Linked DNA regions of Homo sapiens: all the other regions are linked to region 3. The links are contacts of gene promoters, found by promoter capture Hi-C in human tissues and cell types (Jung and others, 2019). All regions are on one chromosome and are shown on one strand. The core of a region is centred on a gene start or on the middle of the fragment in contact, and the rest is flanking DNA. Distances in the headings are between cores, read along the strand shown. Region 1 has its middle 64 kb from the start of FGFBP1. Region 2 has its middle 37 kb from the start of FGFBP1. Region 3 holds the start of FGFBP1 (fibroblast growth factor binding protein 1).

What was found. Contacts are between HindIII fragments. The study calls those that stand out against the background at their distance.
Region 1: a fragment that was not itself captured here is called in contact with the fragment with the promoter of FGFBP1 in region 3 in 1 of the 25 tissues and cell types used here (spleen).
Region 2: a fragment that was not itself captured here is called in contact with the fragment with the promoter of FGFBP1 in region 3 in 7 of the 25 tissues and cell types used here (H1 embryonic stem cells, dorsolateral prefrontal cortex, heart left ventricle and 4 more).

What each region holds. Positions count from the first base shown.
Region 1 is chr4:15,873,040-15,876,472 of GRCh38, forward strand. No RefSeq gene overlaps it. Among named protein-coding and RNA genes, the nearest start is that of FGFBP1, 64 kb to the right of the region's middle. The HindIII fragment of the contact is 3,755 bases long and covers 234-3,433 here.
Region 2 is chr4:15,899,731-15,903,080 of GRCh38, forward strand. No RefSeq gene overlaps it. Among named protein-coding and RNA genes, the nearest start is that of FGFBP1, 37 kb to the right of the region's middle. The HindIII fragment of the contact is 6,221 bases long and covers 1-3,350 here.
Region 3 is chr4:15,937,125-15,940,107 of GRCh38, forward strand. FGFBP1 (fibroblast growth factor binding protein 1) reads right to left here and starts at 1,616. Exons shown (of 3, transcript NM_005130.5): 1 at 1,563-1,616; 2 at 1,127-1,347. The HindIII fragment of the contact is 13,154 bases long and covers 1-2,983 here.

The DNA.
Region 1 (3,433 bases), core at 861-3,360, 64 kb before region 3:
AAAAAAAAAAAAAAAAAAAAAAAAAGAAAGAAAGAAAAAGGGATGGAAAATAAGACAGAGAAGAAAATGAGAGAACCGGACCAAAAGGTCAGCATCCTATAATAAGAATTCCAGAAAGAAAGAACAGAGAGAAATAGTGAGGGAAGAAGTCACTGCTAAAAATATCCAGAGCATTTTTCTGAACTGAAGGACTGAATTTCAAAATAGGAAGAGGCCACCAAGTATCCAAAACAGAGATGAAAATAGAATTTTGCCAGGGCACGGCATTGTGAAATTTTAGAGTTCAGGGAACAATTTGACCAAAGAAAAAAAATATTTTTTCAGTTATATCACGTAAAAGGAATCAAGAATTAGAATGGGGCTGGGTATGATGGCCCACGCCTGTAATCCCAGCACTCTGGGAAGTCGAGAAGGGCAGATCACTTAAGCTCAGGAGTTCAAGACCACTCTGGGCAACATGGCGAAACCCCGTCTCTACAAAATACAAAAATTAGCCGGGTGTGGTGGTTTATACTTGTAGTACCAGCTACTCAGAAAGCTGAGGTGAGAGGATGGTTTGAACCCAGGAGGCACAGGTTATGCTGAGCCAAGATGGCACCACTGCACTCCAGATTGGACAATAGAGCCAGACCATGTCAAAAAAAAAAAAAAAAAAAAAAAAGAATGGAATTAGCTTTCTAAAAGGAATAGAGCAAAGCAAAATAATACAAGATAATACAGCAGGAGGGAAATAACCTTCTTACTATTTTGTTTAAGGACATCCAAGTTTTCAAATCTTATCTCTTTTTTAACTCAGAGAGAATTGTGCTTTCATTTTGTTAATCGTTGCAGACGTCCAAGGCCCAGGCAGCCACTTCACTCAAATACAGGAGAGAATAAAAGGAACAGAGGCAGTCTCCTCCTCTACCTCCAGGGCTCTTTTTCTTGTCAATATTTTAATTAGTTTTGTTTATGTTCCGGGAACACCTTTTACACCAACAAACCACTCTACCCTGCAATGGAAGTTACGCAGAACATTTTAAAAGTTGTTATTCATTGATATGGTTTGGATCTGTGTCCCCACCTAAATTTCATGTTGAAGTAATCCTCAATGCTGGTGGAGGAGTGGTGGGACTGGTGGGAGGTGATTGGGTCATGGGGGCGGTTTCTCATGGTTTAACACCATCCTTCCTTGGTGCTGTCATCACGAGTGAGTTCTCGTGAAATCTGGTTGTTAAAAAGTGTGTAGCACCTCCCCTCTCTCTTCCTCCTGCTCCTGCCATGTGATGTGCCACTCCTCCTTTGCCTTCCGCCATGTTTGGAAGCTTCCTGAGGTCTCCCCAGAAGCAGAAGTTATAAGGTTTCCTGTACAGCCCGTGGAACCACGAGCCAATTAAACCTCTTTTCTTTATAAGTTACCCAGTCTCAGGTATTTCTTTATAGCAGTGTGAGAATAGGTTAATACATTCATTTTACATAATCTTAATGGTCTGAGGTAGAAAAAAGGCCAGGCTAACATGGATTAACATGGATTAATGCAATCTTCTAAATTAACGGGATACTTTAGTGCTTTTTTCTTTTTCTGGTTAGGTACATGTTATTCAGATATTTTTAGGCCAATAAACATTAAATATCATCTGATTTAAACAACATGTTTTATGAATTTGGGAACTGAGGCCCAAAGAGAATAAAAAACATACCCAAGGCCTTATAGTTTCTCAGTACAAAGAGCAACCTCTACAAACTCAGTGTGTTTGTTTCAAACCTAATTCATTATCTTCTCCAGGCACACGCAATGTTCATCCTCCTGAATTCCCAATCCCTGGAGACTAGAACCGGGTGGGGCTCTATGCTCCTGCAGAGTCCCGTTTCCCTGGCTTTCTGTGTTGGCTGGCTGGTGCTGTGCACTTTCCTCTATCCTTCTTACCCTGAGAAACACGGTGATCTGTTGCCCCAATTTAAGGAATGGATTTGATCCTGTTACTTAGTTTTGCCAGTTAATGCTTGAAAAATATTCATAGCTGGCTGGGCACAGTGGCTCCTGCAGGTAATCCTAGCACTTTGGGAGGCCACAGGAGAAGGATCCCTTGAACCCAGGAGTTCAAGACCAGCCTGGGCAACATAGCAAGACTCCATCTCTATTTTTAACAGAAAGAAAGGAATATGCGTTGCTGTAACAGCTATTTTGAATAAGCGTAGCCTGTGGGAAGTGGTTGCAAAGCAACTTGATGCTGGCTTGTCACTGCCCCTTCACTTGTGTGCACAGGGCTGTTGTTTTCTTGCCCCTGGATGAGAATTCAGGCAAGGCCCATGACATTTTTTTTTTTTTTTTTTTGAGATGGAGTCTTGCTTTGTTGCCCAGGCTGGAGTACAGTGGTGTGATCTCAGCTCACTGGAACCTCTGCCTCCTGGGTCCAAGCGATTCTCATGCCTCAGCCTCCCAAGTAGCTGAGACTACAGGTGTGCACCACTATGCCTGGCTAATTTTTGTACTTTTTGTAGAGAACAAGTTTCACTATGTTGCCCAGGCTGGCCCCAAACTCCTGAGCTCAAGCGATCCGCCTACCTCGGCCTCCCAAAGTGCTGCGATTACAGATGTGAGCCACCATGCCCAGCTCTGCTTACCCTTCTTAACTCCTGGGAAATTGGAGCTTCAAATGTTCTACAACGTTGCCTTTGGCTTCCCTAAAGACCTTTTTGGATGGGACCTGGGAAGTCTTATGCTGATTTGCTCTGATTTCACCCGTATTTGGTTCATGTGACACACTCAGGCATCCTTTGCTCCAGTGAACACCAGAACACCAGCAAGTTCCCTCACAGACACTTCTCCTCTAGCCTCAGCTGCCAGCAACTGTTCCACTGACCTTTCAACTTTTAGATTTCTCATGAAGTAATCAGACGGGATATTTTATCCCCCTGCACACCAGGGAAAGGTCGAGCTTTCTGAGTGGCTTTGTGAAAACTCCCCTCTTGACTTGAAGTGAGGTGGGGAGAATGCCTTCCTTCTTTTTTCATGAGTCTCTTGAAACACAATCATGGTGCCAGTATGCTGAGGTCAGGTGGGGGCTCACAGTATAGCTCTCTCAAAGGAAATCCCCTTCACAGGTCCTCCCTTCAATCCCAGCTCTCTGCCCCTGTATGCTGTCTGTATGAGGGCATGTATCTACAGAAAACAGAGGCACACTCAGAAGGGTAATTGAAGAGAACTTAAAGAGGAGTCATTTACCAAATATGTGGGAGGGTTAATGAGACCAGCCAGGGATGGTGAAGCATACAGAAGTAGCAACACTGGGGAGCTGTTACCACCCCCTGGTATGAGTGTACCTGGAACCTGTTGATAGTTTTGGATATTGGAGATCAGCCACCTGCCGAGTGGCCCTAAGTGAGGAAAGCAGCCACCCCAGCCTGGAAGAAAGGAAATGAAATGATAAAAAGGCTTATTCTGGCTGGTGTG
Region 2 (3,350 bases), core at 442-2,941, 37 kb before region 3:
GGGGCCATGGCAACTGAAAAACAATTCACAACTTTGTTACATAAAAGTTGAACCAGATTAGAAGAGATACTTAATGTGTATTTGACAAGTATGTGCCTAGAAGGATACATAAATGAATGAAGACATGAATGAAAGCCATAGCAAAATCCAACACACAAGGATCAACCCATCTATAGTATCTCCAAGACAGATGATTCAGGGTCCATTCTTCTGTCTTCAAACTCTCCACTAGCTCAGGTCTCCAAGTCTTGCTATGAATGTCTTAAAATATAAGCAAAATAGAAAGATTGTACAATGAACTCCCAGAAACCCTTCAGTCCAGTTACACAGGAGTCAACATTTTGCCATCTATACTTATTTCTTTCTCTTTCTTTACTGTCTATTTCTCCTTCTTCATTCATTTTCTTCCTTCTTCCCTTCCTTCTTTTTTTCCAGTAAGCTGCAGACACTATGATACCTTGCCCCTAACTGTTCCAGCAAGTATTTCCCAGGAATAATAATATTCTTCTACTAACCACATTATCATAACTAAGAATATTAATAATAATTCTATGATATAATCTACTATAAGGACTATATTCAAATTTCTCCATTTGCCTCAAGAATGTATTTTATAGGCTGCTTTATTAGGATCTAATCAAGTATCATATATTACTTTTGGTTATGTTTCCTTTGTCTGTTTTCACCCAAAGCAGTCCCTTTTGGATTTTTTATGCTTAACATTGCCTTGTGAATAATCTAGCCAATCTATAAAGCCAAACTAAGAATTAGCTGATTCAATAACATACTAAATCTTAGTTTGCCTGGTTGCTGGTTGCTTCCTTCTTTTTTCTCTTTTTCTCTTTCTTTTTCTTTTTTTTTTTTTTTTTTTAGACAGGATTTTCTTCTGTGGCCCAGGCTGGAGAGCAATGGCATGATCTCAGCTCACTGCAACCTCCACTTCCTGGGCTCAAGAGATCTTCCTGCCTCAGCCTCCCGAGTAGCTGGGATTACAGGCATGCACCACCACACCCAGCTAATTTTCCATATTTTTTGTAGCAATGGGCTTTCGCCATGTTGCCCAGACTGGTCTTGAACTCCCGGACTCAAGCAATCCATCCACACTGGCATTCCAAAGTGCTGGAATTACAGGTGTGAGCCACCATACCTAGCCCTGGTTATTTCTTTCTAATATCATTTAAATCATTCCTTTAGTCGCTGTATTTCTTGTAATCTTAGATTCACATTGAACACTTTTGCCCAAAATATTTATATATTAGCTTCCCATTACCACTGTAACATAGTATCACAAATTTAGTGGCCCAGAACAAGACAAATTTATCATCTCACACAAATTTATTCTGATTGGGTCCTCAATCCTGCCATGCAGTGTCTGCTGCTTCTTCCTTCTTCTCCTCCTTCTTCTCTTCTTCTTCCTCTCCTTCTCCTTCTCCTTCTTCTGCTGCTGCTAATGCTTCCTCTTCCATTTCCACTTCCACTTCCACTTCTTCTTCTCTTCTGCTTCTGCTTCTTCTTCTTTTTTTAGAGACAGGGTTTTGTCCTGTCGCCCAGGCTGGAGTACAGTACTGGAAATATGGCTTGCTGCAGCCTTAACCTCCTGGGGTCAAGCCAATCTTCCTGCCTCAGCCTCCTGAGTACTTAGAAGCCCTACACAGGTCTCAGCGGACGAAAATCAACATGTCGGCAGGGCTATGTTCTTTTCTAGGAGTTTCAGGGTACAATCTGTTTCCTTGAGTTTTTTATCTTTTAAAGGCCACCCACATTCCTTGGCTGTAGCCCCATCTTCCATCTTTAAAGCCAGCACCATCATCTCTTTTTGTCCATACACATTTCTCTCTGACTACAGCTAGGAAAGGGTCTTCTCTTTTAGGGGTTCATGTAATTAGATTGAGCCCAACTAGATATTCAAGATGCCATCCCCATCTCAAGTCCCTTACCTTGATATGGAAATTTTCTTTGGTCGTGGAAGATAACATATATGTAGGTTCCAGGAATTAGAACATGGACACCCTTGTTGGGGACTGAACAGTATTCTGCCTCCAGCTTCATAGGGGATACTTTTTATGTCATCTTGCTGAGAAGTCCATTAGGAAACTGTCATCTTTTAGTGAGGCCAAATTCAGGGCATTTAAGTGTAAATTGGAGAGGGAGGCAGTTAACCAAGCTGTGGGTCTCAGAACTACCTCAAAGTGGCAGGGAGGGGATTTTAAAAATGTAGCTGTCAGAGCCTCATAACAGAGATTCTAATTCATTAGGTCAGGCCTGGCAGCTGCCATATTTGCCATCCAGAAGTGGGTGATTCACACCTGCACAAGCCTGGAGCCCATCCCTGAACAACCAGGCACCTGTAGTCCCAGCTACTAGGGAGAGATAACAGGTGGAGGCTCATTTTCTTGATCCCCTTCTGAAGTTGGCCTCTCAGGGACACCTCGCTGGTGGAGTCTTTTCCCAATTTGTCAAAAGTCATCAGCAAGAATGAAAGCACAGATGACAGTCAAAGCGAATGAATTTTCTAAGGGAAGTGGTTACTGACAGATTTCCTTTCTCAGGGTTGGTGGATTTACTCATCTTGGTCAAAGGCAAGGAAAAGGTGGGTAGCAACATCTATTTGCCAACTTTTATGGCAATATTTAGTATTTAAATTATATGGATAGATTTTGTTAACAATTTTTTAAATTAAAACGGCAATACATGAACGTTAAAATTTTTTAATGCAGATGTGTATAAAGTAAAAAGACTTTCCCCCCAGTTATCCTCTTTTAAACAGCTACTGTTATATTTCTTTCTAGTAATATATTGTGTATATAACAAACATACTTATATAGACATGTCCATATTTTTCTTATACAATTGAGAACATCTTGCACACACACTGTTCTGTATTTTGCCTTTTCCCCTTGGGCCTGATTTTATATCAGCCCAAAATATCTTCTGCATCCCTTTTCACAATTGCAAACCTTAGATGGATATCTACGATTTATCTTGCCACTTCCCAACTAATGTTCTTTTAGGTTGTTTCCAGCTTTCGCTATTACAAACACTACTGCAATAACTAATGTTGCATACATGTCACTTACCACATGTATTTTAGGGCAATATCCAGAAATGGATCTTCTGAGTTAAAGGGTTGGCTTATTTAAAAGTTTGAATAGATATTACCAAACTTCTTTCTAAAGAGATTGTGGTAATCATACTACTACTAACAGAGTCGGAGAGTGCCTGTTTCAAAACATCCTCTTTTGTGCCCACACTTAAGCAATAAGAGTCTCAAACTGGAGTCTGTTGCTATTTTTTTTTTCTTTTGAGACAGAATCTCTTTTGTCACCCAGGCTGGAATGCAGTGGCAATCT
Region 3 (2,983 bases), core at 366-2,865:
CTGCTCCAAACTTTCAGCTCCAAAGGGCTGGATTTCTATCTCATGACTCCATATGGACACAGATGCCCAAAATGAGAAAAGACATGACAGATGCCCAAAATGAGAAAGGATGTGGTAAGCATCATGAAAGGTGATGTTGACCCAGAGTTGAACATGCCTGGGGTTTGGGTGGGGTGGGTGGGGTTGTGGGGGTGGGGGAGCTTTTTGTGGGGAAGTAAGAGTTTAAGGAAAGGTGTGAGGTGGGGTGGTTGTCTGATTTGCCTGGGCAAAGTGAATCAGGGTGGAGAGAGGTGAATTTCAACCAGATAGTTCACACTACAAGATCGAAGACAAGGATCATGAGAAATCATTGAATCAATAGGATGAACACCAACGTCACACTGAACTGCATGAATCTGATCATGTGTACAATAAAAACCCATGCTTAACAGAAGAAGAGAAGTCAGTTTCTATATGACACCTCCTGTGTGCTAAGTACTGGTCTAGGGTTTGATTCCCACCTTGTGAAATCCACACAAGAGCTCTTCCAGGTAGCTATTAATATGTCATCCCAGGTGACAGCTCTGACTCTTAAGGCTCAGACAGGTAAGTAAATTGCTCAGGATCTCATAGTGGGCAAGTTCAAAGCTGGTATGGGTAGCCAGATCAATCTCCTTATTCCTTTCTGTCACCCCTGGTTGATCACTTTTTGCTTTTCACATTTACTCTGCCCTTTAAAAACATTGCCAAAGAATAAGAAAAACAACTATGAACAATGACAATTTAGTTTCATATAACACATAATGATAAGATGATTTGTATTATTTGTGCTCCATTTAAAACAAAACACAGAATTTTTTATAAAAAGAGGCAGACCCAGGAAATGGTCCTGATCTGATTTCTACCCTAGAAGTTGGCCATCTTCTAGGGTTAAGAAGGAGAAAGACAATCACAAAAGGGCAGAGAACAGCAATAAATGGTGAAGAGGAGACTGGATATGCCAGAAAAACACCCAGTCATTTCTCACGGCCCTGGGGCTCAGCCCCCACCTGCCCATGATGGAATGCAGGCCCAAGGAACTCCAGGCCCTTGGTGGAGTGAGAAGTGGCAGCAGGTAATAAAGCTGTTAAAGGAGCGAGGCTCTTACCTTGTTCTGAGCACACGGATCCAGTGCAATCCCAGGCAGTGCGAGTGAATTGCAGGCTGCAGCTGTGTCAGGTAGAGTGCAAGGGGGGTAGACTATTCAACAGGAGCCAGGCTGACTGGGTTTTTATAACACTCACTGGGTTTTTACAACACTGTGGCACGTTACTCACAGCTCCTCCCAGCCACGCCCCTCCGAGGGAGCCGGTTCCTGCAGGGAAAGTGCTGGATGTAATCCAGTGAAAAGGGGGGTTACCTGCATGCCATCAAACGCTTCCTCTAGGCCCTTCCCTGTCCACCCTGTGGCCAGGATAGGAGGACAACTCAGCCTCACAGTGACCCTCCTTGATGGGGAGAGGACCCCAGCAGTGATGTCTATGGAGGAGTAAAATAACTATAATGACATGATCCGAGCTGCCAAACTACTGAGCCCATTTTACCTGAGTTCTCCTTTTCCCTCATCACATCCGCTCTAGTAGGGAGTGCAATGATTCCTCCCCTTTTACAAAAGCAGGAATTGGTTCTGGAGATATGTAAGAGCTTGTCCAAGTTCACAGAGGCAGGAAAAGGAACATCTCAAAATTAAAAGTGAGATTCTCTACATCCATGGTCTGATCTCTTCCTGCCTGCCACTCTCAATAAATCTTTGTTGAATGGGTGACTGAAGTTGCCGAAGTTTTCGTAGTGTCTGAGTTCCTTTTTCCATCTGAAGTTACTACATAAGCAGAGGATACCCTAATTCTAGAGGCAGGGAAATTTACATTAAAAATTCCCTCTTTTTTATCAGGGAATTCTACCAGGCTCTGAGAGGCTGGTAAAGAGGGAATTTTTAATATAAGATTACTGTTGTAAATACTTACCTTCAGGTCTCATTCAGAGAGCTCAGGCTGCCCTGCCTGCTACAGGCACAGTCCCACACCAGAATGACCCAGGTGGAATCCTGGCCACAGCATGTGTTTAGCTGAGTGCTATGCCCAAACCACTTAGCCTCTCCCATCATCCATTTGCAGTGTGCTGACAATAACAACGTCTCCTTTATAGCTGCATACTAAATTTTTACTGGGCTAAGCTGTTAACATAAAGTGGAGCAGAATCGTTTTGCCTCATGACAGGGTCTTAAGTTGTATACTTTGAAAACAGACATTTGTTATTTACATATGCAGCATTTAAAAAGAAACTCACTTCTACAGGGAAGATGTGGCCCTCATTATATATTATCACCTCACCTTTCATAGATTTTCAGAAGAAGAAATTGTTCACTTTTCCTTAATTCAGCCATAAGAAAACTATTGTTTAGTGTGATATTAAATGGCAACTGACTTTTGGGTTTGAGATAAGGCAATAGGGAGTGATGGGGACTGTGGCAAACTAGAGAGTCTCTGCCTCCATAGAGGTCAACACTCATCTCCAATTGACTGAGAAAATGCAGGGATTAGGCTCAGTATTGTCACACTGTCTGATTTTTAAAATGACATCCCCAAATCCAGATGTGTTTATATGAAATTGGTTGGCAGCTAATTAAAATTTTCTAAAAATAAAGCTGTAGCTCAACACTATGCAGGCCAAAACTTGTAACTGTGTTTGGATTTTATGAACGATCCACCTGTTTGAGAATTCCGTGGTCATAGCTATAGATGTTGACCAATTTACTCAGAGGCTCAGTCTCTGCATGAATCTGTTGGAAGAAGCCATTTCTGAAGCTGTGTGCCTCTCTCCTAAAATTGCCTCACCCAGGGGTCCGTCCTCACTATCCTCACAAACACCCCGCTGAGGCCCTGACCTCCACGAACAGGCTCTCTCATGCGGTATTTTGGAGGATTATTTGGACATAGGCAAGGCAAAGCTGCTTTGCTCAACAAGG